3 separate regions of the Homo sapiens genome follow, and all the other regions are linked to region 3. The links are contacts of gene promoters, found by promoter capture Hi-C in blood cells and fetal thymus (Javierre and others, 2016). All regions are on one chromosome and are shown on one strand. Each heading gives the region's core, a stretch centred on a gene start or on the middle of the fragment in contact. The rest is flanking DNA. Distances are from core to core; before and after follow the strand shown.

The links. Contacts are between HindIII fragments. The CHiCAGO score rates a contact against its expected background, and 5 or more counts as called.
Region 1: a contact is called between a fragment that was not itself captured here and the fragment with the promoter of PIP5K1B in region 3, in 4 of 17 cell types (total B cells, naive B cells, erythroblasts and 1 more). The highest score is 12.3, in total B cells.
Region 2: a contact is called between a fragment that was not itself captured here and the fragment with the promoter of PIP5K1B in region 3, in 2 of 17 cell types (total B cells and naive B cells). The highest score is 10.9, in total B cells.

Annotation. Positions count from the first base shown.
Region 1 is chr9:68,764,889-68,767,588 of GRCh38, forward strand. The region is part of intron 2 of PIP5K1B (phosphatidylinositol-4-phosphate 5-kinase type 1 beta); the gene reads left to right. Among named protein-coding and RNA genes, the nearest start is that of PABIR1, 14 kb to the right of the region's middle. The HindIII fragment of the contact is 2,928 bases long and covers 1-2,700 here.
Region 2 is chr9:68,649,053-68,651,752 of GRCh38, forward strand. No RefSeq gene overlaps it. Among named protein-coding and RNA genes, the nearest start is that of PIP5K1B, 55 kb to the right of the region's middle. The HindIII fragment of the contact is 5,031 bases long and covers 1-2,700 here.
Region 3 is chr9:68,703,717-68,706,602 of GRCh38, forward strand. PIP5K1B (phosphatidylinositol-4-phosphate 5-kinase type 1 beta) reads left to right here and starts at 1,524. Exons shown (of 16, transcript NM_003558.4): 1 at 1,524-2,046. RefSeq lists enhancers at 1,038-1,963, 2,652-2,741 and a silencer at 1,382-1,901. The HindIII fragment of the contact is 6,803 bases long and covers 1-2,886 here.

The DNA.
Region 1 (2,700 bases), core at 80-2,579, 61 kb after region 3:
GAAGCATTTTAAGCTAAATAAAACTAATTTTAAAATAAAACTAATTTTTATTTTAAAAAAAAGTGGAGAAGGCCCATGTAAATTCCCTGCCTTTTAGAACATGCATTCTGAATATTGTTTTAAAGCATTTCAACAAAAATGCTTTGATGGAATGCTACAGTCACTGCTCATTATCTTGAATTCACTTGCAGGTCATTTGTTCTTAACTGTTTTTTTAAAAAAGTGAGTGTTTACATGTTTTTACTCCAAAGGAAATCAGTTACAATTGTTCATAATGGGTGCTTATTTAAAAACGAAAGCTCTGAGAAAAACTGTGCTTCTAATTTTTAATATTTCAAACATTATAGATGTTGGCATTGTGATGAAACAAAACTTGCCACTAGTAACATTTTAATGGTCTTTTCCATGGAGCAGTTGGAGATGAAACTGTGTCATAAAATATTTATTAAAATGCTTATACTTTACTGAAAATTTGAGGGTGTACCTGTGCTGTACTGAATTCTGTGTTCTAGCAAATATTTCATAATGATGCCTAGTACAAATTTTTATTAATGCAACATGGAGAAAATGGTCGTTCTCTTGTCTGAGTTGGATTAAAGCAAAGTTCCAAGCAGAAGTGCCAGAGCTATTTTTAAATGTACAAGGCATGCATTTTTTTCTTTTAACATAAATTCTCCATCAAAATAGGACCTAAGATTTTAAGAAACAAATATAATTTATTATGGCTATTTTGTGTTTAGAGAGATACTAATAGATTAGAGAAAGTGATTTGCCATTTATTGAGAAGGGCCAAAAAGCACATTAAAATATCCAATTTGTTAGTAACTTTTGAAAATGCAAACTTAAAAAAGTGCCACTTTTTGTTATCTAAGTCTAAGGCTAAGAAGAATGATCATACCAAGGTTGAAGTAGAGGTGGAGAACAAGCACTGTCAGATCTGTTGGGAATGACAATTGATGTAGACTTTCTCAAGGGTGATGTGTTTACAAGAAGCCTTGCTATACATATCCTCTGATCTAGCAGTTCCACTGCTGGAAATTTAACCTTAGGAAGTAATTGGACAAGGGGCCAAAAAATAAGACAATGATATTCATGATAGCATTGTTTCTAATCTCAAATATTGGAAACACCTTAAATTTCCATTAGTAGATAATCAAATTATGGCTCTTTTATCCACTGAGTACCTTGTAGCTATATAGAATGATATTGTGTAGGAAAAGATGGCATAATATGGTAAGGAGGTGACAACTTGGTATGTATAATATGGTTAAAAAAGAATGTGCACTAAGACTTGGTGGATATCTATAACAAAATGTTAACAGAGGCTACCACTGGATAATGGATTGCAGGAAACTTTTACTTTGTTTTTTGCTGCTTTTTTTATATATGAAATAAATACATCTCTTATAAGCAAAAACTATTGTTATAAATGTATCTATCTTTGATTTAGCACTTCTACTTTGAATAATCTGTCCAACAAAATGAACGTACAAAGATCTTATATAATGTTCAATGCAGCACTGTTAAAAATAGTTGAAAAAAATTAACCTACCTGCTTATCCCCTATTAGAAATATGTATAAGAAGGTCATGGAATAGCCATACTTCACAGCCATTGAAATTGAAGATGTAAGTCTATATTTACTGATATGGAAAAAGTGTTCACAACAAATATGGAAAGGGCAAGTTAATAAACATTGCATTATGTAGATAGGTAGGTATGTACACAGATAAAAATCTGGAATGCTTTTTATTACAGTGTCAAAAGTAATTGTTTCTGGGTGATGGGATTGTGGGTAATTTTCAACTATTTTTTTCTATGTGTCTGTATTTTAAATTTTTTTACAATAAATAAATATCTCTTTATTACCAAAACAAAGGTAAAAAATCAACAATATCAGATATCAAAAAGGAGAAGTAACCAAAAAATATTGTTAGGTACTACATGAAACACTATGGAGATAGGTGAAGTAAGTGGTATTTCTAGGAAAATTTACTTTATTAAAGTGGTCCCAGGAGAGAGTCAGTAACCATGAAAGAAATAAAAATGTTATCAAAAGATGCTTTCTAAATTCAAAGTGCAGGCCCCCAGATAGCCCAAGTAAATTCTTCAAATAGTCAGGGATATTGATATTAAGTAGGGTAACTATATAGTTTATTGAAGGGAGCTTTAATTGAGAGAACCAGTATAAACTAGAATGCCCCATGTAAACCTGACAGATGGTCACATTACTATTTCAACTTTTTCTAAGTATAGAGCAAAAGACAGACTTTCAAGATTTTTTAAGATACCAAAATGATCTTAGTACCAAAACTTCACAAAGATAGCTGGCATGGGCATGTGCCTGTATGTGCACACACTGCAGATCAATCTTGATGCAAAACCCTTTCATAAAATACCATCAGATAGAATTTAGCAATGCAGTCCGGGCGCTGTGGCTCACGCCTGTAATCCCAGCACTTTGGGAGGCCGAGGCGGGTGGATCACTTAAGGTCAGGAGTTCGAGACCAGCCTGACCAACATGGTGAAACCGCGTCTCTACTAAAAATACAAAAATTAGCCAGGTGTGGTGGTGCACACCTGTAATCCCATCTATTCGGGAGGCTGAGGCAGGGGAATCGCTTGAACCTGGGAGGTGGAAGCTGCAGTGAGCCGAGACTGCGCCACTGCACTCCAGCCTGGGTGACAGAGCAAGACTCT
Region 2 (2,700 bases), core at 39-2,538, 55 kb before region 3:
CCAGCTTACCAAGGGCAACACAGTAGAGTTGTGACTATCCTGAGAGCCACTGAGCCACTGCATATTACCCTATGGGTAATGAGGAAGAGAAGTCATCTAACCTTAGTGGGTAAGCCCTGGTTGTTGTGTGGCCTGCCCAGACCTCTGAACCTGCCCATCTCTCAAGACTATGGATGATAGCAGCAGCTGTGTGTGCTGATGGGTAGCCTGCATTTCAGTTTCTGTCTCAGCAGCTCAAATAGCTCAGCCCAAAAAGCACTAGTCCTCGAAATACAAAGAGCATGAAGAAAGCAGGATGGCATCTCCAGCTCCACTTTATCCCTACTGATGATTTGGAAGGTGAGATGATTTCTTCTGTGATCGTAGCCATCCACCCTCCTGTGAAACCCTTTCCAATCATAAAATCTGCGTATCTCCCAGCTGTGTCCCACCAAGATGCTTGTGTTGTTTTACCTTTTCATCCTCATTTTCTTCCTAAAATGGCTTGGGGAAATTGTTTTATTCCTAAAATATGATTGTGCCTGTTTTCATAATTGATTTTGAAATCTGTTTTGGATGTAAGGTTAAGGGCCAAAATAAAGACTGGTAAGGTTTAACTATCATTTCATCCATTCAACAAATCTTTAGGATAGATAATAGAGAGACACAAAGAAAGAAAAATGTCCTCATTCTTTTTTTTTTTTTTTTTTTTTTAAACAGAGTTTTGCTCTTGTTGCCCAGGCTGGAGTGCAATGGCACAATCTCGACTCACCACAACTTCTGCCTCCCAGATTCAAGCAGTTCTCTTGCCTCAGCCTCCTGAATAGCTGGGATTACAGGTGCCTGCCACCATGCCTGGCTAATTTTGTATTTTTAGTAGAAACAGGGTTTTTCCATGTTGGTCAGGCTGGTCTCAAACTCCCAATCTCAGATGATCTGTCCCCTTCGGCCTCCCAAAGTGCTGGGATTACAGGCATGAGCCACCGCGCCCAGCTGAAAAATGTCCTCATCATTCTTGTTAAGGAAATTTTCTGAAGCCTCACTCTCCTCACCTAAAAACTGAAGGTAATTATAATAACCCCTATCTTTTGCAGTTACTGTTGTAGTTAAAGAAGGTAAAACTATTAAGTTTTTAGCAGAGTATCCAGTGCATTGTAAATACTCGATACAAGCTGGTTGTTACTAAATTAGGTAGAAAGATGATAATACTGGTGTTTCAATAGATAGGCAAAAAGTATTGTTTTATCACAGTTTTGAATAAGGAAGTTCTTACAGAGGAAAGTGTAAAATTTTATTACATTTCCCATTGCCAACATTACTATCCAAATATTTACTTACATTAATCACAGGCCTCTGCTTAAGGTGAATTGCGTATTGCCTATAAGCTAGTATAAGGTGTATTTTTACAGTAATTCTATCTACCACATGTATGATGACCACTGCTACTAAGTAATAATAACTACAATATTCCTCCAGCCCTTGCCATGTACTATGCTCTATTCCTAAATGCTTTACAAGTATGATCTCATTTAACCCTCAAGACCACTCTAGGAAATAAACACTACTTTTCATGGTCCTTTTACATATGAGGAAACAGATACCCAGAGAGTTTAAATGACAAGGAAAACTTCATGAAGGCCAGGCACGGTGACTCACGCCTGTAATCCCAGCACTTTGGGAGGCCGAGGCAGGTGGATTACCTGAGGTCAGAAGTTCAAGAGCAGCCTGGCCAACATATAGTGAAATCCTGTCTCTACTGAAAAATACAAAAATTAGCTGGGTGTGGTGATGCACACCTGTAGTCCCAGCTACTTGGGAAGCTGAGGCAGGAGAATTGCTTGAACCTGGGAGGCAGAGGTTGCAGTGAGCTGAGATCTCACCATTGCACTCCAGCCTGGGCAACAGAGCAAGACTCTGTCTCTCAAAGGAGGAGAAAAAGAAAACTTCATGCAGCTCTTACTACAAACATGTGGGTATACTTTTCAGATATGTGCATGTGAATCTGTCGGGGGAAAATTATCAGGCATGTAAGTGTTTCTAGGTCTTACACCAAAGAGGATGCTGGCCCCACTGTCCCATTTCTTCTCCTTTCCCCATCTAAGGAAGGTCCCAGTTTGCCAGATGGTCTACCATGTTGGACTTTTATGCTGCAAAATTATTAAGAAAGATGGAGGGATGAGAACTGAAGCTACCATGATAATCCCTCTTGCCTCTGATGGTTGCTATTATGGAGTGAGAAGTGTATCCCCATTGTAGTAGGATTCTTATCTACAAAATGGGAGCTACACTATTTGAATTTCATGTGAGGCCCTCAGTACACTTTATCTGTGTTGATCCCATTATGCCACAGCTTTCTCTTTACCTCACTGTCTCCATTTGTGAAATATGATTAAGAATGTGGCGTACCCCACAGGACTGTTGTGAGGAATGACTCATGGTTATGAAGGAGTTTGTACAATGCAACATTCTATTTAGGGCTTCAGTATGTTTTTTATGGTTTTCAAGGACTAATTTTCAAAGCAATATGACAAAGTAGATAGAAACCTTTTCAGAAATGTTGGAGAAAGTGATTACTAATGTTAGTCAATAGTCATCATTTCATCACCTAAAAATAGATGCAACTTTGACCTTTGGTCATGCAGCAAATATAATATTTAAGAACCTGAAGAAAAGGAGAGAAACTTGGGTTAGGGCTGTGGGAGGGGTTTGGGGAGTGATGAA
Region 3 (2,886 bases), core at 274-2,773:
AGTCAGATGAACGGTTCTTTGATCGGTTCTTCTGTCCTCCACCACTGGTCTATCCACCCCATCTTGAACTTTGTTAATACAATATTTCTGCTAGTTATTGTTCAGGGATTGAGAGTCAGGGAAACTGTGTTCTGGTCCTTGGGTTACTTAATGTCTTGAGACCTTAGTTTCCTCATCTGTAAAGCGGGAGGGCTGGACTAGATGTATGTTCCTCCTGCTCTGAGCTGTGAAGCGTCTAGGATGCCAGGAGAAAACCAGACCCAAGTCACAGGGTTCTAAACAAACCATACCTTAAATCTCTCAGTAATGGCCAGCCACATCTGCAAGAAGCAGGCTGGGAAAACAGCTGAAGAATAACAGATATTTGTTTTATTTGTCAATTATGGCTCAGTAAAGCTAAAAAAAAATAGATACTTCTGTTATCAAGAAATTATTGCACTTGATTCAAGGCTGATATTAAACCATAGCAGACTCACTCAAGGTGGGGGGTGAGAGAAACAAAGAGATTACAAAACTGAAAAGAGGTGTTCATTTGCAGAGAACTAAGGGAGTATCCTTCAAACAGAAACTGGAAGCCAGAGATCTCTGAAGATAAGGATCATGAAATGTTGTTATTCCCCAGACAGAATGTATCCCACGTTTTCCACCGGCGTTGTTTTTGGTAAAGAAGGGTAAGTGGAAGGAAGTGATGAGGCTGAAAAATACCATTTGCTTCAATTCAGCCGCGAAGGATCCGCTACCTTTTGGTTCCTATTAAGTGAATTTAGCTTTAGCTTTCATGATAGCATTTTCCCAAAGGAGTCCTTTAGATCTGACCCCTACCCTCTTCGCAGCTAGACTGACATCAGGTGACGTTGCAAGTGCCCCCAGCCCACTAAGCGCTATCAGTAGGAATTGGCCCTCAGCCCCGTCACAGCGCTTTCCCATGACATCCCCCAGCTTCTCTCTCCTAGGACCTCCTCGCCAGCCTACCCCTACCTGTTGGGTAGGTCTTACTTGCTGGGAACACCTGCTGTCCTTAGAATGGGAGCAACCAACGCCTTGGAATCCTGGCCTGTCCCTTCCTCGTGAAGGGGGCGCCTGCGCTCAAGTGCCGGCTTCGCCGCCTCAGGCAGAGTCTAGCAGGCGGGCGACCAGGCGTAGCTGAGTTCTGTGGCCTGGGGAAAGGGGACGCCCTATCCCCACAGCCCTGTTTCGCAGGGCTTCAAGACGCTGAGAACGGCCGGGAACCCCTGGAGTCTTGGAGGCACCCGCCAATTCCAGGGGCCCACCCCAACCCCGCTCTCAGTCTGGGCCAGCGGCGGCGGGACAGGCGCCCGGTCCCCACACACCGGCTGAGACGCCCAGCCCACTGCGGCTGAAGCTCCGGCCGCTGTTGCGGCAGGTGCTGCAAACCGGTCTGCCTTCGCTGCAGGGCTTGCGGGGATGGGGCAAGTGGGTGGAGAGAAAAGGGGAAGAGCCTGGGCGGCCGGCAGGCGGGGCCTGCAGCCTCCCCAGCCGCGGCAGCCGCCGCGCAGCCGGCTCTCTCTGCGCCTCGCTCCGACTCCGGCGCGCACCAAGCGGGAACCCGCGCCCGAGCCCGGCGGGCGCCGCTGCTGCTCCTCTCGGTCCCCGGTTCCCGGTCCCCGAACGCGCCGCGGCGAGGCTGCGCCCGGCAGTGGAGCCGCTCGGAGCTGCTGGGCTTTGGCGGCCGCTCGCTGCTCCGTCTGGCCGGAGGACCGGCGGGGAAGGAAGGGGAAAGCGGGGACACACACACTCGCCGCGGCGCGCGCGCACTGCACACTCGTAGCCGCGCGCCCCCGCCAAGGCGCGTCCGGAGCGAGTTTGGCCCCGCGGCTCCAGCCCCGGCACCTGCCCGCCCTCAGCGTTGCCCCCGGCCCCGGCCCCGCCCGCCGCCCCCTCCGCCCTCCCGCCCCTCCCGCCCCTCCCGCCCCTCGCCTGCACTGCTCTCCCTTCGCTGTGGGGAAGCGACAACGTCCCGATAACTTGCAGACTGTGGCGCAACTGGTCTTGGTAGCGGAGGCACCCGAATGCTGCCCGGGTGAGGTAAGTTTCCTGTGCGTCCCCGGCCCCTTCCCACTAGACCCTTCTGAGGGGCTTGCGCTTAGGGGCTCTGCATCTCTGCTGAAACCCGTCGGTCTCTCTACCCTTCCACTTTGCCTGTCTGCGTTGTGCTGGGGGTGACGTGGAGAGGGCGCCCGTGGCCACCGAAGCGGACCTTCGTTCCGCGGGGGCCACAGCTGCGCGCTCCCAACGGACACCCACCCGCTCGTCACCCGGATCCCCGGGGCCGCAGTGACACTCGGAGATCACTCTGGGTTCACTTAAATAGGAGTACTCTCCCCTTTTCCGGGGAACCTGCAGAGTTTGGCAGCGGAAGGAAAGGTCTCCCACCACCCTCCCCCGGTACGAAACAGCGGTGAACTTGTTAGGCGCCCTGGTATCTCAAGAGGGGCTTGCGAGTTGGTGTTCTGCTCATTTCTGGCGCTGGTGCCGGATTGAACAGGTGCGGTATGGTTCCAGTCTAAATGCAGCAACAGACTTCTGCGTTTCCCAGGCTTTCTCCCCCAGCCTGGTCAACGTGACGCTTCAACATCTGGGGCAGGGGCTGGGAGTGTAGGGGCACTGGGGAGGGAGAATGCCCGGGTTTGATTTACTATGCCGGTGCCAGGAGTCGCCAGAACAGAAGAAAACAAATGTCTGCTTATCTGGCATCTATGCAGATGAGCGTGTTGTCATTTCTTATCCCCCCCAACCCCCAGCTCTCTTGTCTGGTGCCCAGCGTGGCTGAGTAGAAACCTATTCCGGAGAAGTTATTTGGGTAGATTGATTAATTCTTTCATCGAATCTACTGAAATCAGGGCTCCGAACAAGGCAATCCTAGTT